Linked DNA regions of Homo sapiens: all the other regions are linked to region 1. Evidence: promoter capture Hi-C in 16 types of primary human blood cells and fetal thymus (Javierre and others, 2016). All regions are on one chromosome and are shown on one strand. The core of a region is centred on a gene start or on the middle of the fragment in contact, and the rest is flanking DNA. Distances in the headings are between cores, read along the strand shown.

Region 1 (3,182 bases), core at 529-3,028:
GTTATCAAGTAAGCATTGTTGCTGAAGATTACAGAGGGATGCTGAAGAAAGCTACATCAAGAAGCATTGGAGTTGGCTTTGATTAGAGAACTCTCATAAAGTCTGTTCCAAAAGCCTCAAAAGTCAAAGGGCATTATTAGTAAAGCAGGAACAAAGCTAGATGTGATTACAGATTGTTAGAGCCAGCATTAGAAGTTGCTGAAACAATGAACAAGGAGGGACAATTTTACCATAGACCTCATATAGACACATGCAGAAACTAAGTCCAGTTTTTAAAAGAACATTAAAAAGCGCAACTTTTACCATCCATTATAATTAAATTTCTCCAACAATGTCTTCATCATAAGAATCACTAACATGTATTAAGCACCTGTGTGGCAAACATTGTGCTGATGGATTCACAGGCTTAGTCGTTCCTCCTCACCACATCCCTGAGGTAGGTGCTATTTTACCTTCATTTTACAGATGAGAAACATAAGAGGTTCAGAGATTTAAGTGATTTACTCACTTAGCTAGTGAGAGAGAGATATGGGACTTGCTCTAGTCTTACTGACGCCACAGTCTTTGTTCTTATCCCCTGTGACTGTTAGAAATCACTTAGCTCCATGTAACAAAAAACGTGAAAAACACTAAAGTTTATTGTCCTCACATAAGAAGTCCAGAGGAGTTGTTGCCTTGAGGCTGTCATCAGGGCCGCAGGCTCCTTCTCTTGCTGGTCCCTGTCGTTAATGTGTGCCTCTGGCCTCAGATGAACTCACTAAATGGCTGCTCTGTCCCACGGCATCCTATCTTCATTCCAGGCAAAAAGAAAGGGAGGAGCAAAAGCTAAAAGCCTTTCAGAAGGGCTTACTTTTCTATTTAAGAAGGAGGCCCTCCTCAGAAATTCCCACCTGCATTTCATTGGCAACATCTATGCTGCTTGGCCACCCCTAGCAGCAAACAAGGCTATGAAGTAGAGACTTTTGTTTTCCAGCTTTGACAAGTGAAAAAAGGGGAAAGTGAGTTGGATGGGTGCTGAGGAAACCAATTTATACAGTACATGTACAAGTAGCCTACACAATCACTCTGCTCACTGGCACTACAGATAAAGCACATGTTGCTATCCTAACCTAGAGGGCTCATGAGATCTAGTCCTTTCTTTTTGACCTTATATCTCTGTTCTCTTCAGCCAAACTGGGGTTTTTCGCTGTTAACATGTTCCCTTTTAAGCCTCCACCCTGTCATCCAAGTTTCACGTTCTCCCCAACCCCATTCCCAGTGTAGTAAAAGGCTCCTGGCATTCTGCCACTAAATGTGCATTAGTGTTAGAATATTCTGAGCATGAAAAAATAAAAATCACAACTGTATCTCAAACAAAAAGGATTTTTTTTTTTATTTCTCTCCCTTAAAACAATCCAGGCCAAGTGACAGGAAGGCTCCAGAATTTTCAGTGACCTGGGTTCCCTCTATTTTGTTGCTCTGCTATCTTCCACACGCAGTTTCCAGCTCAGCCAATCTCGTCTACCCTGGCACCGCATATAGTAGGCATAAACAAAACAGAGAAGTGGAGAGACTGAAGTGAAGGAAATGATTTCCGCATCCTAAGTAAGCTCTAAGGTGCTTTTCCACTTTTCACCTTCCACTTGGAATTCATAGTTCTACCTGAATTCCACTAGATGGCAGCACATACATTTATAAAGTGTATGGATGGAGCCACTAAACTCTGAAAGCAGGGAAACTACAAATCCCAGCATGCATTATTAAGCGCTTGACTTGCTTCCAGACAAAGGTTGTCTCAAGTTTGTTGCTCAAACCGAGTTCTGGAGAACGCCATCAGCTCGCTGCTTAAAGTAAGATTTCCTAATACTTTTGAAATGAAACTTTAGAACGGAAAGAGGGGAGGTTTAATTTTTAGATGTTGTTTTTTTCTGCACGTTGCCTGTTTCAAAATTAATCTGAGCAGTTAGATCAGTGTAAAGATGGGTTTTTAAAGAGCCTGAAACTCTGTGGTATGTATGTTTTATAAAGTAGCCCAAGAAAAAAGGATTCTTACGGTATCCTAAGTGAAGAGTTTTCTTCCTGGCTCTTGAAAACAATGGCTTCCTGAATATGCTGTTTGTGTCTCTGCTAATCAAAAATCAACATTTTGATTCTAACTTTTGGACTAAGGAAGCCAACATGTATGGTTTTCACATTGGATATATTGAGAGGTGCCTTGTTTTACCATTTCAGGCCGTGTTTGCTCTCATTTTCTCAAAGAAATCTGTTTTAGTTTGAGATTACAGTTTATCAAATGTTAAGGCTTTGACCCCAAAATCTGGTCCCAGAAAGACAGGAAGGCCAGCTAAGAGGAGGTTTTCAGAGTGCATAGAAAGGCTGCTCTGTGCTTCGGCATTTGTTCTGGAAGTGCTTCTTCGGTTGGCAAAGATTCCTAGCAAAACCTTTGACTGGAGGCTTTACAGGGCCATACACCCAATATCACTAATGACAGTGTTGTAAAATAGCTTTTGTGCACCATGCTTAGGATTCAAGGAGGATAAAGTATATCTTTCTAAAGTTATACTTTAGAAACTGTCATTCCATGTTGAAATGATAAACATTCCATGTTTATCTTTTGTGTAAGAAGTAAAAAAGCAAAAATTCATTGCATCAAAGTAGGTCAGGCACTGTTAAAGCCAAGCTTCCCCATCGCCTAAAAAATGTGGACAAACTCAGAGGAAGTCAGTGATTATAAGCTGATCCCTGGAGCCAGTTCTTACATAATTGTGTTAGTCTGCTCCTCCAAGAAGCAGACTCCAAGATAGAATTAAATATGCATGGATTTTATTAGGGGAAATGCTGTTGTGAGAGAGAATGAGGAGAGAACTAGGTAAGGCTGTGAGAGCCATCAGACCTCGATGCAAGTCCACCCGCGAGGGAGGAAAAGAAGGAAACCAGGTTGAGTGGAAGCATCCCAGACAGCTGTGCAGTCTAAGAGAACTTCAGCAAGGTAATAAGGAGCTTCTCTAGCCAGTCATCCGTTGGGGAGGAGGTCTATGTCTCCCAGAAATGAGTCTGCCTTAGTAAGCATGCATGCTCAGGCACTGGCTTGTAACGGCCCCGAGAAGGTGGCCTCAGCACAAACCCAGAGAGGCAGCAGCAGCTGCGCCTCATTGTCCATTACTTCCTGGGGTCAGCGGTCTGCGAGGCACAGGCTCCTGGTG
Region 2 (3,649 bases), core at 111-2,610, 820 kb after region 1:
CCCCACTCCTCCTTCCCTCCAATTTTGTTAGAGCTCACTGTCTGGAACCTGCTGAGCACCTGGACATGAGGGCCTTTGATAGAGTGCCTGCAGGTCTTATGGGGAAAGAAGAGCGGAAAGCGGATCTGGAGGGAGAAATGAAAGATACCTTGAATACTCTACCACTTTTCTCTCTATCAACCTCCAATCTTGTCCTCCATGTGGTTGACAAATGCATGTTCCTAACACAGGGTATGCACAAAATCCCATCAACTACCATATCATTCCCATGATGTCTTTTACTAATACTGCAACCTGACTAAAATATTGGTCCCCAGCAACACTCTTCATATAAAATATTGGGAGAAGAGGATGCAATTAAGGAACATTAATTATAGCTGCAGCTCACTTCTGGAGCTGGTCATGAGGCCTAAACTGCTCATTATAGGGCCCCCCCATCGACAATACCTTCTGTATTTACCTTACTGTCTGACATCACCTTGACTGGATGAGTCATTTTCCAGTTAGGGCAATTGAAATCTTCATTTCTTTAAGATCTGAGTGCTTGGTAGTCTTGTTTTTATTGGGGGATCGTTGCTATTTTCCCTTGACCAGGACTATCGGGAAGGGAGTACTAAGAGGCATCCCACTGAATTCCCTGAGTTTTAAGCACTGTCCTTGTCTTCATTCTGTAGCAGAAAATCAATTCCCCCTGATCATTAGGTGTGATTACCCTAGCTAGTTATAGTGACTTTCTCATCTCTGTTGGTTCAGGGCCATAAATAAATTTAAATTGCCAGGAGTTAGTCTCTACTTCCAGTGAATCAGAAAATGACCATGTTTCCTGGTATAAGAATTACTGCCTTGGACAGTAGGGCCATCAAACTCATCAAGTCCAAGGTTTCGGGGACAGGAGGCAAGAATTCTTTTTTTTTTTATTATTATACTTAAAGTTTTGGGATACATGTGCAGAACGTGTAGGTTTGTTATATAGGTATACATGTGCCATGGTGATTTGCTGCATCCATCAACCCGTCATCTACATTAGTTATTTCTCCTAATGCTATCCCTCCCCTTGCCCCCCACCCCACTAACAGGCCCCAGTGTGTGATGTTTCCCTCCCTGTGCCCGTAAGTTCTCATTGTTCAACTCTCACTTATGAGTGAGAACATGCGGTGTTTGGTTTTCTGTTCCTGTGTTAATTTGCTGAGAATGAGAATGATGGTTTCCAGCTTGATCCATGTCCCTGCAAAGGACATGAACTCATCCTTTTTTATGTCTGCATAGTATTCCGTGGTGTATACATGCCACATTTTCTTTATCCATTCTATCATTGATGGGCATTTGGGTTGGTTCCAAGTCTTTGCTATTGTAAATAGTGCAGCAGTAAACATACATGTGCATGTGTCTTTATAGTAGAATGATTTATAATCCTTTGGGTATATACCCAGTAATAGGATTGCTGGGTCAAATGGCATTTCTGGTTCTAGATCCTTGAGGAATTGCTACACTGTCTTCCACAATGGTTGAACTAATTTATACTCCCACCAACAGTGTAAAAGTGTTCCTATTTCTCCACAGCCTTGCCAGCATCTGTTGTTTCCTGACATTTTAGTGATCGACATTCTAACTGGCATGAGATGGTATCTTATTGTGGTTTTGATTTGCATTTCGCTAATGATCAGTGGATGATGAGCCTTTTTTCATATGTTTGTTGGCCACATAAATGTCTTCTTTTGAAAAGTGTCTGTTCATATTCTTCACCCACTTTTTGATGGGGCTGTTTGTTTTTTTCTTCTAAATTTGTTTAAGTTCCTTGTAGATTCTGGATATTAGCCCTTTGTCAGATGGATAAGATTGCAAAAATTTTCTCCCATTCTGTAGGTTGCCTGTTCACTCTGATGATAGTTTCTTTTGCTGTGCAGAAGCTCTTTAGTTTAATTAGATCCCATTTGTCAATTTTGGCTTTTGTTGCCATTGCTTTTTGTGTTTTAGTCATGAAGTCTTTGCCCATACCTATGTCTTGAATGGTATTGCCTAGGTTTCCTTCTAGGGTTTCTAGGGTTTTAGGTCTTACATTTAAATCTTCAATCCATCTTGAGTTAATTTTTGTATAAAGTGTAAGGAAGGGGTCCAGTTTCAGTTTTCTGCATATGGCTAGCCAGTTTTCCCAAAACCATTTATTAAATAGGGAATTCTTTCCCCATTGCTTGTTTTTGTCAGGTTTGTTGAAGATCAGATGGCTGTAGATGTGTGGTGTTATTTCTGAGGCCTCTGTTCTATTCTATTGGTCTATATATCTGTTTTGGTACCAGTACTATGCTGTCTTGGTTACTGTAGCCTTGTAGGATAGTTTGAAGTCAGGTAGCGTGATGCCTCCAACTTTGTTCTTTTTGCTTAGGCTTGTCTTGGCTATACAGGCTCTTTTTTGGTTCTATAAGAAATTTAAAGTAGTTTTTTTCTAATTCTTTGAAGAAAGTCAATGGTAGCTTGTTGGAAATAGCATTGAATCTATAAATTTGGACTGTATGGCCATTTTCATGATATTGATTCTTTTTATCCATGAGCATGGAATGTTTTTCATTTGTTTGCGTCCTCTCTTATTTTGTTGAGCAGTGGTTTGTAGTTCTCCTTGAAGAGGTCCTTCACATCCCTTGTAAGTTGTATTCCTAGGTATTTTATTCTCTTGGTAGCAATTGTGAATGAAAGTTTGCTCATGATTTGGCTTTCTGTTTGTCTGTTATTGGTGTATAGGAATGCTTGTGATTTTAGCACATTGATTTTATATCTTGAGACTTTGCTGAAGTTGCTTAGCAGCTTAAGGAGTTTTGGGGCTGAGATGATGGGGTTTTCTAAATATATAATCATGTCATCTGCAAACAGAGATAATTTGACTACCTCTTTTCCTATTTGAATACCCCTTATTTCTTTCTCTTGCCTGATTGCCCTGGCCAGAACTTCCAATACTATGTTGAATAGGAGTGGTGAGAGAGGGCATCCTTGTCTTGTGCTGGTTTTCAAAGGGACTGCTTCCAGCTTTTGCCCATTGACTATGAAGTGGGCTGTGGGTTTGTCATAAATAGTTCTTATTATTGTGAGATATGTTCCATCAATACCTAGTTTATTGAGTGTTTTTAGCTTGAAAGGGTGTTGAATTTTATTGAAGGCCTTTTCTGCATCTATCGAGATAATCATGTGTTTTTTGTCATTGGTTCTGTTTATGTGACGGATTGTGTTTATTGGTTTGCATATGTTGAACCATCCTCGCATCCCAGGGATGAAGCCTACTTGATCATATTGGATAAGCTTTTTAATGTGCTACTGGATTTGGTATACCAGTATTTTATTGAGGATTTTTGCGTCGATGTTCATCAGGGATATTAGGCTGAAATTTTCTTTTTTTGTTTTGTCTCTACCTGGTTTTGGTATCAGGATGATGCTGGCCTCATAAAATGAGCTAGGGAAGAGTCCCTCTTTTTCTATTGTTTGGAATAGTTTCAGAAGGAATGGTACCAGCTTCTCTTTGTACATCTGGTAGAATTCGACTGTGAATCTCTCTAGTCCTGGGCTTTTTTTGGTTGTTAAGACTATTAATTACTGCTTCAATTTCAGGACTTGTTATTGGCCTTTTCAGGGTTTCGACTTCTTCCTGGTTTAGTCTTGGGATGCT
Region 3 (3,579 bases), core at 447-2,946, 770 kb after region 1:
ACGTGCCAACTCAATAAAGATATAAGACTTTTTTCCATTACCTATATTGCTTCCAATAATACGTAATACAAAAGACAATGTATGTAAAATACTTAGCATTGGGCCTGGCTCAAATTATGTGCTCAATGCATAGTTATTATCATCATAATAGTATGTTACTCGATATAGCTACATTATCCTTAACAAAATTGTCTTCCATTGATGATCTGAACACCCAAGCGTCTGTCAACTAAAAGAAGAAAGCACAGCCATGAAAAGACAGCAAGAATTAATGAAAAAAAAGATCAGTGAGAAATAAGTCAGTCCAGTGCCTTTGATTTCAGTCTTGGTTTCCATGGTGACTCACCTTCAGAGAGGCTTTTACAGTTTACCTCCACTTCCCTTTCTCCAAACACTGGTAGTAAATTCTTGAAAATGTAAACCTTAGGAGTAGAGACTAATAAAATAATTTGAGTACTTCAATGTGCATTGAAATTATTACCTCCCTTCCAGAGGACTTCTGATGCTACATTTAGAAGTTGGCTTTATTTTATTATTTTTGCCCCAGATTGGCATCACCACTGAAATGTGAATGTTTGGGGAACCATATAATACTTCCAGAAATGGATAGAATTGCGGTTTTAAATTGAGATCTACTTCTAAATCTGTATGGACCTCTATATGGGTTTTGCAAGCCGAAGAATCCAGGACCCTCTGCATTTAGCTGAACCCTGTTGGATAGAAAACAGATAAGAGAATGAGCATTATTTTAGTCTAACTGGAAGAAGTGAGAGATGTATCTCTTCAGCGACAGGGAAACAGAAAGTTAGCCCGAACTTCAGCGAACAGTAAAATCAGTACACCGATTCTGAGCTTGGCAAAAGTTCCTGCTTTATATAAATATTCATCATATGTTCTATAAAACATGCAGTCCCTTATGTTAAGAGATGCATGCTATGATGGTACCAGGTAATAGAGTTTGAATGTTAAATCATAATGCTCTACAGTTTTCTTCAGGAGCAGAGTTCCCCAGAACGTAAGTATATTATTCGGTTACTTCACCTACACATTAGCATGAACAGCTAGACACTGGCTCTGTCTCTAGTCTTGGGATGAACGCTGTTTAAGTAAATGTTGTGGGTAGGGCCTTTACTGTGGCAGAGGAAACAGGTCCTGTCCTAGTAAGAATATTTACTAACAATTACGGAGCACTTCTTGTGTTCCAGGCATCCTGCTCAGTTCTTCTTTATACACCATTCTGTTAAACCTCCTGATCCCATGGAGTAAACACTCTTGTTATTCCCTTGAGGAAACTCAACCTTAGGTAGGTTAAGTAACTCACTTTAAATCAGATGACTCATATTGGCAGAGCACATATTCCATTCCAGGGTGACTGGATTCTATAACCGATGCACTTTCCACTATTGCCTCTCATGCTGAAGAGTATCATCCCACAGAAGGACTTATTTTCCAAAAAGCCAAGTGCCTCTTGTGTCATCCAAGTGCCTGAATGTCAAGGTAGAACTAATGCCATTTTCTTGAAGCCACTGGGAACTGTACAATCATTTATTTGAAGCTGGCATATGTTCTCTGCTGATGTTCCCCTCTTGTTTGAGTGAAAAGAGGGAAAAAATGTCTTTTCTTCCCCTTGTTAAAGTTGTACTTGCAATAATCAGGGCCGGCCCTAAAACTCATTATTACTTCCTCTACAAACTAGTTTTTAACCTTGCAAAGTTATTTCCTGACAATTAACATTTGATACTCGAAACAATATTGTGAGAAAATTGGGACATATCAGTTCCCCCAGAAACTGAGATACGAATAAGTCATTTGGTAAAAGTTAGACAAAGTCCCCAGATTTTTCTGGGAGACCAGACATTCCAATTTTGAATCCTCAGTTCTTTTTCCTTGGGCTAACTTTAATCAGATGCTGTATTAGCAAGGCCACGGTGCTCTGACTAACCTGAATATTCCATGATCTTTGTGTTTCATTTACTGTGTATAACTGGACCATAGAAAGGTGCGAATGCCTGTTCTGTTTTCTCACCTCTCAGTCACTATTCAAACCATTGGTTCTGGCTTTTTTCTGTCCCCACCACTTCCCTGAAATTTATACCAAGTCACATGGAACCACCTTATTGTTAGGTTCAGTGGGTGCTTCTCAGGCCTCACCGCTCTGATAATTTTGTTGGTGTTGATTACATCCTACCTGAAACACATTCTTTCCTTGCTTGCAGCTGTTTGTGCCATGTTTTTCTTACTTCTCTGGCTGCTGCTTTTCAATTTTGATTTCCTTTGCTCATTCTTTAAATATTAGTGCTCCTCAGGTTTCCATCTCGAGCCTGTTTTATTTTGATGTCACACACTCTTTCTGTATATCTTCAAGGACTCATATGGCTGTGATTATCTATCTGTAGATGCTTTCTACATGAGTTGGCTTACTTCAGATTTCTCTCTTGAGATTCAGCCTTGCGCACCCAGCTGACAATTGATGTCTAACTCTTTTCTTTTCCCCAACTCAACAGGTCTAAACCTGTCTCAAACAAAACTCATCAACTCCATCTCTTTCTCCATCAAAACCTTTTGGTATTCCTGTTTTGCCCATCTTAGTGATAGGTATTACTATCTGCTCACTGAACTAAGCTGTGAAACTGGATGTTAATATTGACTCCTCACTTTTTCTTTCCCCTTCCCATATCAAATGCACATAAGTCTTGTCATAATAACTTATAAATATCTCTTAGTTAATCTCTTGAAGCTCCAACATCCTCTTTGTGTAATGGGGAAAATTGTACCTACCTTATGGGATTGTAGTAGAGATGAAATCAGATAATATGTCTAGCCACTCTGTCTTTTGCCTGGCATGCTGTAAGTATTCAATACACATACACTCTGTTACTGCTGCCGCCCTCTGCATCCAGTCTTGCCTCACATATCTCTTTCCTCTACATTTCTTCCAGTCTTGAATACATATATATGTATATATATACACATTTTATTATTTTATTAGACTTCAAGTTCTGGGATACATGTGCAGAACATGCAGGTTTGTTACTTAGGTATACGCGTGACATGGTGGTTTACTGCACCCATCAGCCATTATCTACATTAGGTATTTCTCCTAATGCTATACCTCCCCTAGCCCCGCAGCCCCTGACAGACCCCAGTGTGTGATGTTCCCCTCCCTGTGTCCATGTGTTCTCATTGTTCAATTCCCACTTATGAGTGAGAACATGCGGTGTTTGGTTTTCTGTTGCTGTGTTAGTTTGCTGAGGATGATGGTTTCCAGCTTCATCCATGTCTCTAAAAATGACATGAACTCATCCTTTTTTTATGGCTGCATGGTATTCCATGGTGTATATGTGCCACATTTTCTTTATACAATCCATCATTGATGGGCATTTGGGTTGGTTCCAAGTCTTTGCTACTGTGAAAGTGCTGCAATAAACATATGTGTTCATGTGTCTTTAAAGTAGAGTGATTTATAATCCTTTGGGTATATACCCAGTAATGGGACTGCAAACCATCAATTGGTATTTCTGGTTCTAGATCCTTGAGGAATTGCCACACTGTCTTTCCCAATGGTTGAACTAATTTATA
Region 4 (3,574 bases), core at 975-3,474, 840 kb after region 1:
GTTGGGATAAAAGGTAGACGAATATTCCCATGGTCTAGTGTGAGCCGAGTGGTGTGTAAGTTCTGGTTTGGAACAATTTAAAATCTTGTGTAAGAGGGGTACTATCTTGAAAATAGAAGAAGGTCAGTACTGAGTGAACTTCTGGAAAACCAAGGACTAAGTCATGTGGGGCAATTGGAGAACTAGAATACATCACTTGGCAGGAACCCCTCTGAAGAATCCCAAAAGTGTCTATAAAAGAAAGGTTAGTCTTAAGCATCTGTCAGACAGACAGCATTAAGCAACATTTTGACAGTATCTGTCAAGTATGAACTTTTTTATCCCCTTTTCTTTCCTTCATCTGAGCACTTAACCCTGGAAGGGCCAAAAGCCAATTAGTGAACAGTGGGGAGTAAGGAAATAAAAGAGAAGGATTCCTTCCCAGAAGTCTTACCTTTGAATACAAATTGAATTACTGATTGATGCATTGGATTGGACATTTTCAATAACTGACTTGAGACTATGTTTGTGTCTTGAAGTAATTGTAGGATTTTATATTCCCTCCAAAGTCCTGTGTGAGAACAGCCATTGTGCCACCCCAAGTTTCATCCAGGGGTAGGAGAAGGGCTAGCCAGTCCTTCACTCCCAAGCAGACAGTGAGGAATAAAATTAAAAGTTGTTTTTAGTTACCCCTGTGAGAACTGCATGTTAATATACTGATTATATCTGCCCTTTAAAAATTAGTACTTACACACACCTGTAGTCCCAGCTACTCGGGAGGCTGAGGCAGGAGAATGGTGTTAATCAGGGAGGCGGAGCTTGCAGTGAGCCGAGATCGCGCCACTGCACTCCAGCCTGGGTGACAAAGCAAGACTCCGTCTCAAAAAAAAAAACAAAAAACAAAAAACACTTACTTACAACAAACCTGTGTAATGGGTTCTATTTTTAATGCTAGGCCAGGCTGCAGCTGAGAAGTTGCAAAGGAACCCCATGCTCAGGGATGCAGCCAGGGAAGAGCATGACAAAAGCCCTCCCACCCACACTGCTGACCTCTTGCAGCAGCTGCAAACAGCAGGAGAGCCCTTTCCTGTTGCAGTATCCCTCCAGCGCCCTCTACTGAGACAGCTCAATATCATGCTCACTGTAAAGGATGGGTGCTAAAGGAATTCTGTTCATTATGACAGAGCATGTATTTAGAGTGAATTTGGAGTTCAGTGTTAGTAAGTTGGTAAGTGGCACAGGGAGACATTACTCCGTGACTAAATGACATCACTCTGTGGTGATGGGACTTCGTGCATTTGCAATGTTGGGGACATAGACTTTTCAACTGTACAGGATGGGGATCCACTCTCCACCCTTCTGTATCCTGCTTTTTGCCTCCAGAGACTGACCCACATGGACCTCAGTGGGTATAGCCAAATGGAGAACTTCGACAAGAGACTGGAGGAAGTGAAGAGAGGAAGGATAGAGTATCAATTTCCTTGACTATCCTCCTACTGGGTATCCTTGGGCTGCCTGTTTTGCCCAAGAAGGCCTTCTCTACAGAAAAGCTTCTTACAATATCTGTGGCTAAGGCCCAGCTTGTTTTCCTTATTTCCAATTTATCAATAGCTGGCACTTCTGTAAATAGATAGAATTCAAAGAAATTACTAGAAAAATGAAATACAATTAAAAATAAATAAATAAATTAGCTGGGGGTGGTGGCGGACACCTGTAATCCCAGTTATTCAGGAGGCTGAGGCAGGAGAATTGAACCCGGGAGGCAGAGGTTGCAGTGAGCCGAGATAATGCCACTGCACTCTAGCATGGGTAACAGAGCAAGACTCCATCTTGGAAAAAAAAAAAAAGACATAGAAAATCCAACCCCATTTTTATTATTAGATAAACCTCATTTTTTATTAGACACAATTATTCTTTGGGATTACTGTTGAAGTTTATAAATGCTTATTCTCAATTTCCGTACCTAGTTCATCTAAAAAACTGTTGCTGGGCCAGCACCTGCCTGTAGATTCCCCTCCTTTGGTTTTGGTGCCCACTATCTCTCTGTCCCTTTGGCCTAGGGGTAGTAACAGCTCTACTGTCTTCAGCCCTGCGTTCATGTAGCATCACCTGTGGTTTCCCTGCACCCCACTTGCATGTTTGTAATCAGTCCCTTTGTAAATTAATGGACCTGCCTCACCTTACCCTCATTTGAGCATGGCAGTTCTTTGTTTCCCCTGTGGCTGTGATTATCAGCAGTAAACGTCTTATCCTGGAAGAGGAGGTGACTGTGTGAATTTGGCAGGAGAAGGAATACACAACAAGTGCGTATATGGGAGTGAAGTTGCTGCTCACTGAAAGCAAGGAGAAAATTTATGGGGATGAAAGATGATAAGCCATTATCATTAAACATTTTAGGGTAACAAGATGGCATTAGGTTAGATTAATTTGTATGATTAACTATGCATACAGAGAAAAATATCTAGGATGTTTTGAGAGACTAGTTATAAGTGGACTTATCACATTTCTGGCAGATAAGAATCTTTTGACTAGATAAAAGACTGTAACCAACTGTCCAACAACACGTCCTTAAGCATGAATCATCACGTATTTTTAAATAAAGACATAGATTTCTAGATAGGGAAGAATGAATATATTTTTATGATTGTTTATTGAACAGTTTATGCCTTATGGGAATCCTTCTCGTGTAGATGTATCTATAGGTCACATTCCCTCACTTAAAGCATACTATGAAGTGCTACGTGGAATATCTGAGTGAGAACACCGGGACTGCTGCTTGTGACTGTATTGCTGAGACGTTCCACCCATTCACAGCAATGCTTATAAATAGACAATGTTTTTTCTTTGGGAGTCATTGTATGTGCTAACCTTAATGGTGTTACTCTAATAATTATGTACGAGCTTGTTAATGAACTGGGAAACATTGATTTTAGAAGCTTAGAAACTGTGGAGGAAGGTGCTTCATATGGATCTTTCTACTTTTTGTATCTTTTGTGTTTCCATGAAAAAATCTTTTAATTTGTGAAAAGTAAGCCTCAGAATTCATGTCTAAGCATTTCGTAGAAGGATGCACGTGAGAAAAAGCACCTGCGCTGTCATAGCGATCCTTTGGTGTTTTAAGATGAAAAAGTTCAAAGCATTTTAGAATAGTCATAAAGATGACATTGTATAAGTTAGGAGCTGGGTTGTCCTGTCACTTTGTGGTGACAAAACTGGTGAAAGTGGTATTAAAATCATTGCTGGATATGTTTGGAGTAATGCACTTCTGTTGATTGTTTCTGCATACCTTGACTTCTGCCCTTGTCCATGTAAAAGCTTCACTCTTCCTTTTAGAAACTGGTTTCTCCCAACCCCTACTGGAGATTGTCAACCAATGCACTTAACCTCACCCATTTGCCACAAGCTGGGCAAGTCACCCAGTCTGGGTCAATTGTAATCTTTACACAGAAACTTCTAAGGATGTGGAGAGCCAAAACTCTTGCCTCTTGTATTTGACCCCAGAGCTTCTGGTGGTCATGTTCCTGGCACAAGGAGAAACCCGGGAAAATGAGATGGATGCTGAGAAAACAGTAGAAGCTATGGGGACTGATTGGAG
Region 5 (3,522 bases), core at 974-3,473, 800 kb after region 1:
AAAGAACCAGTCATGCAAATATCGGGGAAGAAAATATGCTAAAGACTTTGAGAATAATCAAACAGGTCACACACAAGGGACCTGGAAGCTGAATGGTAGTGGACTTCCCCACATCAATGCTGGAGAGCAGTGGCACAATTCCTTCAATATTCTGAATGAAAACAACTGTGGAATTATAAACCTAGGTAAACTACCTATCTAGTGAGAGGGAATAATGGAACTAAGATTCTGGAAATACACTTCCAGGAATAAGAAGGCAGCTGAAGAAAGAAGAGAAGGTGCGTGCCAGGGTGACAGCCCTGCACCAGGCCTTGAGATAATAGTTTTGACGTTAATTTCTTATGGGGACTATTTTCTCGCTATTTTGGTTGAAGGTATAGTCTCAAATAAATAGACATTTAAACAAATTGAGCAACAGACTGCAATTTTCAGTTTTGTTTACATTGCACAAAAAATCAAAAGAAATGAAATTTAAGAAATAAGTAGGTCTGGATATTGCTTTAAGAGAGTAAGTATTACAATATAAGTGATAGTGATTTTAATAATAAAATTAAAATACTTTCTAATATTTTATATTATAAAAATAATCTAACCTAGGTGACCCCATTAAAAGGATTGAACATGATAATATAACTCAGGGTTCAATTTGAGTTACAAGTATGGATTTAAGAATTTTGTTGACAATCCCGGCTGTCACTGCTTCAACAAAGTTTTTCCAAATTGAAAATAATAAGGAACTCTCTAAAAATTACAGTGAGTTAAGAAAGGTGGTCTAATTGGCATTACTGTCAATAGAATGTAAATTATGTGAAAATCTAGATTATAAAAGCATAATTTTTGATCTTGCTGAAATGTAGAAAGAACAAAGACATGTTATAGAATACTTAAACTGTATGACTTAGGAATGTCTTTATTATTCATCCAAGCAATTCTGGCTCATTACAGAATACTCAGCTAAGCAATAATATTTAAATTTAGAAGTCTCTGGTGTTTTATCTGTGTTTAGTCATATAAAAATCATAGTTTTACACATATGTTTTTATTTTGTTTTCATGGAAGCATATTTATCACAGTGAAATAATAGAAGATATTAACATTTAACAGTTAGCTTGATTATAACTTTTAAATATTTAGACGAAATGATTTGAGAGTTCCTTAATACCTTTGCTCCAGGCCTACTAAGTGTGAGGCACAACAGTCTATGTGGCATGCGTGTGGGCACGTGCATGCTTTTTGGGGAAAAGTGGGGGTCACAGAGGGGTAAAAAGGAAGATGTAGGAAAAAGAGGGGTGCACAAGATGCTATTTCCCCAGTTATTCAGTTATTGTTACTAGGTAATGTGTCACATGTCACCTTGTGACATGCTTTGTGTTTTTCTCTTCGACGTTCCTGTGTAGCCAAGTGTGGAGTCATTTCACTATCTCTGCAGCCGGGTGGGGCTCCCCAGCCCAGACACAGCCTTGGTGTTTGTTGGATGTTGATTGCTGAGGAATGTTTGGTACTTTGGGGAGGGTGTCAGCTCTTCAAGGCCACTAGAGGGACCCTGGAGCTCGTTCCTCCAGCAATCTGTCATCAGTCTCTCTTTTTATGAAATTTCCTGTGCTTTCATTTAAGAATAGATACTATTAAATATAAAGTGATTTTTAGAAGTTGATTATTGTGAATTTTATGTGTAAAGTTGAGGTGCAATAAAATAGAATTTAGCTGCAAAGTGTGGAGATGTTAGGGAGATTTTCTTTGTTGATGACTGATATGAAGTGACACTCTATGAATAGAATGCTAACATTTTTGAGGTGGTTGGGCCTCCATGAGAGTTTAAATACACATAATTCATTCAACAAGTATTTTTCCAGTACTTAACATATACTTGGCATTATTCTAAGTGCTGGCACATAGGGCACAGTGGAGAGGAGATGAGGACCCAGAGCAGTTTTCAAGAAGTAACAGATGAGGTGAGACAGCAGAGTTCACAGATTCCAAACTTTCCACCCTTCCATAACATAACTGAAATATTACACATTTTGCACAGAAAAATGGAAAGCACTCTTTTTTTTTTTTTAAGTATGAAATACAAAAAAAACTGACTGGAAGTTCTGTGTGTACATATATGCATGGGGCTTGTCTACCAGTCTTTTGGGTGGTGTGTTTTTCTCCATTCTTGCCTGGCGGTGGGAAGAAGGGTAGAATATTACTGGCTATCACTTGGGAAGTGGAGTGGGAGGAGAAGGGGACTGGGGCACTAAGAATATTTGACATAACACCCCTTTCTTTAGTACTGTACTTCCCAACTGTCTTCAGTTTGCTTTGTGTCTTTGAATTGAGGGTCTCTCTAGTTCACTTTCCCCAGGGGTAGATCTCCAGTCATCATTTGGGGTGGCTGCCTTGCCACATTGGCTTGGGAGGAAGGACTTGAGGTTCTACTTGTTCCCTAAATAGACTTGCAGCCACTTCTCTTATGTTTAGTTCCGGTCTTTGCCCTCTGCCTTCAGAAGTACTTGGTGCCTCTAATCCCTGAACTTTTTTGAGGTTCTGGGTCCTGCATCACTTTGCTTCTTGTTGACTTTCTTTGTGAAGTCAGTCAGAACTTGCCTTCCTCTTTCCATCTTCCAAAATACAAATCTCAATGCTGTCATGTTGTCTCTCTTTCCTCCTGTCCTTGCAGTTTTATGTCTTTATTCCTTTATAAGGACATAGCTTCAAGAGGGCATTTCAGGATGGACTAGAGATAAATATGTATATCTGGTCTGCACTATTTCACTAAAAGACCATTTACTATTTTAAATCATATAGTTCTTGAACATCACAAGATTTAAAAACAGAAATTAGTTAATTTCCCCTATAATAACAATTAATTAAAATAGAAAACTATACAAATAATAAAATGACATAAGAAATGATTTCCACTGATCTTGATTGACTGGTACTTACATAAAAACAGTAACTAGAGGCAGATGATATAGCCAATCATGAGGAGAAATTCTGGGTTGTCTTTGCTGTTAGTGGAATTTCTCTCTCACTGGGTCTATCTCAGAGCATCCCTGCCCTGGACAGGTCATTTTATCTGGCTTTACTCTATGTGTTGCTAAGGTCATGAAAATTGGTACCTGAATCCACTGAATTTAGCCTACTTTCACTGATATGAAGTATACTTTTATTCATGAAAAACTGTTCTAAAGTTTTTTTTTTATTACTCCACAAAATTCTTATTTCTTATTTTCTTACTTTAACAAGGAGACTGAGATGATGATTTGGAATGTGTGAACTCTGCTGTCTCACCTCATTACTTCTGTTACTTCTTAAAAAAACTACTCTGGGTCCTCATCTTCTCTCCACTGTCCCCTTTGTGCCAGAACTGGTGTCCTTTCTCCTTTTTAAGGCCAGTTCCTCTAAATATTCTCATCTTTCCTGTGGCCTCTTCCAGTTTTGTTTTGTTTTGTTGTTTTAGGACAGGGTCTCACTCCATAACCCAGGCTGGAGTGCAGGGCTTAATCAGAGCTCACTGAAATCTCAAACTCCTTAGCC
Region 6 (3,497 bases), core at 618-3,117, 740 kb after region 1:
CTTTGTGTTGCAATCTAATTATATTCTTCTAGTTATTTTTAAATGTACAATTAAATTATTATTGACGATAGTCACCCTGTTGTGCTGTCAGATACTAGGACTTATTCATTAATTTTAATTATTTTTTTGTACCTATTAACCATCCCCTCCCCTTCTCCTCCCCACCACCCGGCAACCTGTTTTGTTCATCGATGATTCTTCAGTACACAGAAGAGTGTCTACTAGGCACCCCAAAAATATCTGTTGAATAAGTGAAGGAATTGTATTTTTGAAATTTGCATGATCTCGTTAGCTATTCTTTGGAATCAAACCAAAGTTTACTTGTAGTAAAAGTTATTGCCTGTTAAATTGAGAATCAAAATAATCATGCAGTCTTACAGTGTTTTTAAGGAACTGATTTCTATAGTGGCTTTCTCATATAGTTAGTGATGGCAATGTTTTTACCAGCTCATCATTAGCATGTTCTGCAACTTGAGGGTTTTTCAGTGATGGGGTAATATTGTTCCTGCCCTGCCCCTTCTCTTGAGAATAATGGCACACGGTTGCTAAGAGGCTGGTAGGGATTAAGCATTCTCTTGAGCAAAACAACACTGGTTTGTGCTGGAAATAACTTTAACTTGGTGGTAGCAATGCGCTGCTGACAGGGTCCCAGCTAGAACATGCATTCTTCACCATCTTGAGGCTTCCTTGATGAGAACCACTCACTGAGAGCAGTTTGTAAGGTTCATCAAGGCTGTGCCTTGCCCTCCATGTATTTCCTGTAGATTTCCTGGGAAACCAACCTCTTCACTTCAGCTGACCTGAAATCCCCACAGGTCCGCTCAAATGCTGTATTTGTTTGCATCCAACAAAGTGGAAGTATAGGGAGTGTCAGTAATAACATACTGTTTACATGGGTGATAGCTGGGAAGAGAAATTCACCAGGAAATCCTGGTGAGACTCTTACATTCACCAAGGTGTGTGGCAGTGGGCAGACTCAGGAGTCTTCAGATTTCAGAGCAAGGACCTGCAGCATAAGCAGGAAGAGGAGAAAGGGTGTTGTCAGGGTGAGAGATTATGGAGTCAAAGGCCTGGAACAGATGTTATGTACTTTTAAGTCTTAGTGAAGGCTAGCTCTGTTCAACACCTTGCAGTTCTATTGGGCGAGTTCATAAATTAAAGCCATCTCCATAAAATGCCATTCCAGACTAACATATGGGATTGACTTAATTTTTCCATTTAAAAATGCCTGCTTTATAGTATAAGCTTTAAAATTGCTTTCTAAGTAATGCATTTAAAAAAATCCGAGTAGGCGTGTATCCATGGTTATGGCAATGATGATAGCAAAGATTTCTGAAGATAGGGTTTTTGTCCTAGATTTTTATAGGGTTTCTATTTATCCACCTTGCTTCTGTTTTCCTTCAGCTCTTTTTATATGATTTGAAAATTTGTTTGCCAGTTTTTTTGTTGTTAAAAAATTTAACATTATTTAACATTTTTATTTTACTCATTAATTCATTTATTCTATCAGTATTTATTGAATACCTAAAATATGTGGAGCATTTTAGACACAATGAGAAATAGAAAACTTCAAATACTCTAATTGAATAGATGACATAAACAAATCTAGACAGGTAATTAAAATACAGTGTAATGTTTTAAGAACACATAGGAGGGGCACTTAACCAAAAATTAACATGAGAAGATTTTCAAGAGTAAATGCGGTCTAAACTAGAAGTAGTAAGAAGCTGGAAGTGGAGATGAGGAATGAAGAAGTGCATCTCAAGAGAAAGAGGCAGCATGTGCAAAGGTCCTGAGGTGACAGACCACATGGCTGGTCAGAGACCTGAGAGTAGCTCAGTGTGATTAGTGTATGAAGTAAGAAGTAGGAATGGTGAGAGATGTGACTGTGGAGGAAAACTAGGTCTTTATTAGGACAAACCTCAAAAATCATATTAAGGAACTCATATTAAAGACAATGGGAAATAATTGAAGGTTACTGTGAGTGAGTAGGATTAGATAGTCCATTTAGAAAGCACACATTGACTTCCCCATGGAAAATAACTTGGTAAGGGACAATTTGCAAGGCAGGGAGACAGAAGACAGCAAATTATCCAGTTAAGAGTTGATGATAGCCTATCTTAAGATAAAGGCAGTGGACTTAAAGAGAGTAGATCAATTTGAAAACCATAGTAGAATTACTATGGCTTGATAATTGATGGCCAGAGAGGGTATATAAAGGAGAAAGATAAGGGAATGATATTGACTCTCTTAGTGTGGTTTCTCCCTAAAAGCAAGTCTGTGTCAATAACTGGGATGCAGGAAGTTTATTTTAGAGATGATCCCAAGAAATAAGAGTGACAGAATGAGGAGAGTGTGTTAGGGAAGGAGAAAATCTAATTCAGGGAAGGAAGAAAGCCAGTAAAGGGTGCATTATTGAACTATTTATTGCTGTAAAACCCTGGGGCACATATTGTAGGAATTCCCTGAGAAACCATGTTGAAAGCTTTTCAGAAGTGACCCTTTGAAAGACTGAAGACTGAGCCTTTCTTCTCTGACTCTCATTTCTCTTTGGTTTAGGGTTGCCTCCAGGGATGTTAACTCCTCTATGCTTGAAAGCTGCTGAGCAGGTTATTAGAATTCTAAAGAAAACCTGAGGTAAAAAATATGAGAGAATGACTTGAAGTGAAACTACAATTAGAGGTGGGCTAAGAGGATATGATGTGGGGTACAAGTAGGGTCTAATACAGTGACCATGTTTCTGGCACAGGTAACTGGATGAGCCAACATACATTGAATTCTTGAAATATTTTTGAGACATCCATGTGGTGACATCCAGTAGGTAGAGGGATACAGTCTGGCATTCAGAGCTGGCACCACAGTAATGAGTTTAGGAGCCACAGTCTAATCAGAGGGAGTGTATTAGTTTTCCAGGGCTGCCCTAACAAAATACCACAGGCTGGATGGCTTAAAAAACAGAAACATATTGCCTTCCAGTTCTGGAGGCTGCTGACAGGATTGATTTCTTCTCAGGTCTCTCCCTGGCTTGTGGATGGCCATCTTCTCCCTCTGTCTTTACATAGTCTTTCCTCTGTGTCTGTGTCTGAATTTCACCTTTTTATAAGAATGCCAATCATACTGTATTAGGGCCCACCCATGTGACTTCATTTTACCTTAATTACCTCTTTAAAGGCCTTATCTCCAAATAGAGTCACATTCTGAGGTACTGGGGGTTAGGAATTCAGCATAGCAATTTTTTTTTGTGGGGGATGGGACACAACTAAGCCCATAACAGGTAGCAATCGACACAAAGGGAATAGATAAGGTGTTCAAGAAGCATGTGTAGAATGAGGGAAAGAACAAGGTTTGAAGGGATACCAACATTTAAAATGACTAGCATTTAACACTAACAAAACAATACGAAAAATGGAAGGAAAACTGGGAAAGTGTGGCTTCCTGGAAGTCAAGGGCAGGACTGCTTGAAGACGGATGGAGTAGTCAGCCAATGCCCAGTGCTC
Region 7 (3,426 bases), core at 454-2,953, 780 kb after region 1:
AGGCTGCCATAACAAAATACCAAAGCCTAGGTGGCTTAAGCAACAGAAATTTATTTTCTCATAGTTGGAGACTTGAAGTCCAGACCAAGGTGCCAGAATGGTTGCTGTCTGTGAGGGCTCTCTCCTTGGGTCACAGAGAGCATTTTCTCGCTTCCTCATATAGCAGAGAAAGAGCAAGTGAGCAGGCTCTTTGATGTCTCTTTTTATAAGTGCACTAATCCCACTGGACCAGGGCCCCAACTTCATGAACTCATCTAAACTTAATTACCTCTCAAAGGCCCCATCTCCAAATACCATCACACTGGGGATTAGGGCTTCAACATGTGAATCTGGGGAGACATAATTCAGATCATAGTACATAGCTAAGGTCTTATTGGGGTTTAAGCATTGGCTGAAGCATGCAAATAACTTGCCTAAATTACGTTTATTAAAGACAGACTCTTCCATTTGAGTGAATGGATATTTTTCACACTATAATTCTTATGACATTCAGTAGCATTTATTTTATATTTTTCTTAATAATGCAAGTACTGTATATGGAAGAGCTTACAGTTAAAATGTGAGAACAACATTATACCTTTAAAAAATTATTTTTGCAGTTTTTTTCCTAATGTAGATTCTAGTCCTTGTTAATAGTTAATGAATTTCTAAACAGCCCAGCACTATTTTCAAAACTTAATATAGAAAAGTTACCCAACGTCATTGAGAATAATGCATATTTTAATGAAAAACAGTTTGTGCAAAAGACATATTTTAAAACAACTTTTTATATTTATATTTATTGCAGTGTAGAGAAGAGAGGAATTTCTTAGCATGAAACTGTAGGGAGCCAGGTATTTGTCTACAAGAAATGCTATAGAGAGCCATGCCAGTGACACACACAAAATATCCATTCAAACTGAAGAAAAGTAAACTAAGAGGGGGTACTGACAATAAAAAATTGTTTTAAAACCCTTTGTTTGAATGGTGTTGGTGCACCCCTATTTTAAATAAAGTCCTTAGATATGCCCAAACCAATTCTTATTTATTTTCTGCTGTAGGAAAGCTGTTGATTAAGAAGGGATTTTTTTTTTTCTATTTTTCTTGTTTCTAGGTTTAAACTGGTGTGGGCTGTTTTACAACTTTAGGGGCCTTTCAATTTCTGTGGTGGGCTTTTGTATAAAGAGTGCTGTGCATCTAGATGAAATAGTCTGTGTCTCTTTATAGCATCTTTGCTTATGTGCTTTTACACATTATTATCACATTTTTTTTTTGTTTATTCTATTTCAGTGTTTAACTGCTGAAGAGATCTTTTCCCTTCATGGCTTTTCAAATGCTACCCAAATAACCAGCTCCAAATTCTCTGTCATCTGTCCAGCAGTCTTACAGCAATTGAACTTTCACCCATGTGAGGATCGGCCCAAGCACAAAACAAGACCAAGTCATTCAGAAGGTATATTAGAAGCATTTTTTCTCTTTTATTTGAAAAGTCTATGAACCATTGTGAAATGAAGTTAATATGCCTCTTTTTCTGCTTTATTGCTTTTAATTAATCTACATAGAACTTCTTCGAATAATACTTATATTTTGAAAGTATTTGGAATAAGAAGAATTATAACTCATTTAAGCTTCATAAGTTATGCTCTTCTCTTTGTTGAATCAAAATTACATTTAGTACACTTAAAAACTTTATAAAATCCAGTTCTTGATTTTAAACAATATATATTTTATGCTGTGCATATTGGATTGCATTTTCTTTGGCTTATAATTGATCATTTCATTTCCATTATCTTTTGCTTACCATATTATTTTAAAGCTTGTCAGTTTATCTGCAGTTACCAATGAAGAGATAAGAGAACTAGCATGCTTCTAGATTAAATTTTCAGGGACCAAATTATTAGTTTTAATTTTCATAGGTGAAAGAAAATACCAGAGACTATTTTAAGTGACTATAATGGTATTTCCATGAATATGTACTTTAACGGTATGATCTGATGCAAAGAAATTTTAAACCATAATAAAATATATGTATGCTTAATATACAGCTCACATGCTTAAATGTGTAGAAGGGTCACTTTCACCAATGAGATAAACCAATTGTTCAGGGAGTCTGTTTGAAAATTATGTTGGAATTTTAAAGTTTCGTTCATTTGTTCATTAAGCAAATATTTATTGAACGACATACCAAGTATTGTTCTGTGCACTAAGGAGTCAATGGTAAACAAGAAGAATAATTATCTGTCTTTTTAGGGCTTACAGTGTAGTGGAGAAGATTTAAACAAGCAAATTTAAACAAGCAAATAAACAACATAGTTTCAGAGTGAAAGGTGCTATGAAGAAAATAAAATATTAGTAGGTGAGGGATAGAAGGTGATAGTGGGTGAGTGTCATCTTAGATAGATCAAGGAAGCCCTCTCTGATGAGGTATCATCTGAGCAGAAGGAGAGGGCCACAGCAAGGTCGTCTCTAGTGAAGAGCATTCTTGATTGAGGGCACAGCCAACATAGCTTGGCAATGAGCTTGGCATGAGTGAGGAGCAGCAAGAGGCTCCTATGTGTCTGGAGCCTAGTGAGTTGGTGGGGAAGGTAGAAGGATATATGTCCTGGCGGGAGATGGAGACCAGGTGAGGAAGCCTTGCGGGAGGTGGTAAATTGATTGGGTTTTATTCTGAATGTAGTGTGAAGTCACTGTACCATTCTAAACAGGGGAATGCTGTGATCTCATTCAAATCTGTTAAAAGGGCATTCCACCTGCCTACAATCTGAAGAACAGATTGTAATGGGGCAAGAGTAGAAGCAGGGTGATTGGTCAGGAAGCGATTGCCAGGAGCTGATGCCAGGATGATGGGGACTTGGACTAAAGTGGGGGAAGTAGAAGTGGGGAGAAGCAGTAGATTCGGGATGAGTCCTGGAGATCATGCTAAATGGTTTGCCCTGGATTGATTGTGGGAGAGGGAACAATGAGTCAAGTCTTGAGCCAGAGAAACCGGAGAGATCGTTATACCATTTCCCGGGATGGAGAAGACTGGGAAGAGCCCTTTATTGTAGAGGAAGGGAGTGGTGAGGATAAAGAATATAATTTTTGGCGTGGTTGCTTTGAGACATTGACATACACAGGTAGACAGGGAGGTCCAGTAGGCAAAGGCACACAGACATTTGGAGAGGAGATTGCTTTCAGAGGAGAGGTCAAGACTGGGGATTTGCCAGTCTAGAGATGATATTTAAAGACACTGGGGCTAGGCACGGTGACTCATCCCTGTAATCCCAGCACTTTGGGAGGCCAAGGCAGAGGATTGCTTGAGGCCAGGAGTTCAACACCAGCCTGGGAAACATAGTGAGACCCCATCACAACAAAAGTTAAAAGAATTAGCTGACATGGTGGCATGCACCTGTAGGCCTAGCTACTTGGGAGGCTGAGGCAGGAGGATCACTTGAACATAGGAGGTCA

The links. The method cuts DNA at HindIII sites, captures the fragments that hold promoters and counts their contacts. A CHiCAGO score of 5 or more calls a contact.
Region 2: a fragment that was not itself captured here is called in contact with the fragment with the promoter of BDH2 in region 1 in 4 of 17 cell types (naive CD8 T cells, M2 macrophages, total CD4 T cells and 1 more); the score reaches 6.0 in naive CD8 T cells.
Region 3: a contact is called between a fragment that was not itself captured here and the fragment with the promoter of BDH2 in region 1, in 1 of 17 cell types (fetal thymus). The highest score is 5.3, in fetal thymus.
Region 4: a fragment that was not itself captured here is called in contact with the fragment with the promoter of BDH2 in region 1 in 7 of 17 cell types (M2 macrophages, non-activated CD4 T cells, naive CD8 T cells and 4 more); the score reaches 11.1 in M2 macrophages.
Region 5: a contact is called between a fragment that was not itself captured here and the fragment with the promoter of BDH2 in region 1, in 1 of 17 cell types (total CD4 T cells). The highest score is 5.8, in total CD4 T cells.
Region 6: a contact is called between a fragment that was not itself captured here and the fragment with the promoter of BDH2 in region 1, in 4 of 17 cell types (fetal thymus, naive CD8 T cells, total CD4 T cells and 1 more). The highest score is 8.1, in fetal thymus.
Region 7: a contact is called between a fragment that was not itself captured here and the fragment with the promoter of BDH2 in region 1, in 4 of 17 cell types (total CD4 T cells, activated CD4 T cells, total CD8 T cells and 1 more). The highest score is 6.3, in total CD4 T cells.

What each region holds. Positions count from the first base shown.
Region 1 is chr4:103,098,430-103,101,611 of GRCh38, reverse strand. It overlaps BDH2 (3-hydroxybutyrate dehydrogenase 2), which reads left to right and starts at 1,778. Exons shown (of 10, transcript NM_020139.4): 1 at 1,778-1,829. The HindIII fragment of the contact is 3,413 bases long and covers 1-2,661 here.
Region 2 is chr4:102,276,416-102,280,064 of GRCh38, reverse strand. The region is part of intron 6 of SLC39A8 (solute carrier family 39 member 8); the gene reads left to right. Among named protein-coding and RNA genes, the nearest start is that of SLC39A8, 67 kb to the left of the region's middle. The HindIII fragment of the contact is 3,854 bases long and covers 1-3,287 here.
Region 3 is chr4:102,332,570-102,336,148 of GRCh38, reverse strand. The region is part of intron 2 of SLC39A8 (solute carrier family 39 member 8); the gene reads left to right. Among named protein-coding and RNA genes, the nearest start is that of SLC39A8, 11 kb to the left of the region's middle. The HindIII fragment of the contact is 3,813 bases long and covers 1-3,579 here.
Region 4 is chr4:102,255,410-102,258,983 of GRCh38, reverse strand. It overlaps a transcript of SLC39A8 not described here. Among named protein-coding and RNA genes, the nearest start is that of SLC39A8, 88 kb to the left of the region's middle. The HindIII fragment of the contact is 1,386 bases long and covers 1,532-2,917 here.
Region 5 is chr4:102,297,839-102,301,360 of GRCh38, reverse strand. The region is part of intron 6 of SLC39A8 (solute carrier family 39 member 8); the gene reads left to right. Among named protein-coding and RNA genes, the nearest start is that of SLC39A8, 46 kb to the left of the region's middle. The HindIII fragment of the contact is 6,511 bases long and covers 1-3,522 here.
Region 6 is chr4:102,360,705-102,364,201 of GRCh38, reverse strand. No RefSeq gene overlaps it. Among named protein-coding and RNA genes, the nearest start is that of SLC39A8, 17 kb to the right of the region's middle. The HindIII fragment of the contact is 1,240 bases long and covers 1,248-2,487 here.
Region 7 is chr4:102,313,674-102,317,099 of GRCh38, reverse strand. SLC39A8 (solute carrier family 39 member 8) reads left to right here. Exons shown (of 9, transcript NM_001135146.2): 3 at 1,270-1,432. Among named protein-coding and RNA genes, the nearest start is that of SLC39A8, 30 kb to the left of the region's middle. The HindIII fragment of the contact is 188 bases long and covers 1,610-1,797 here.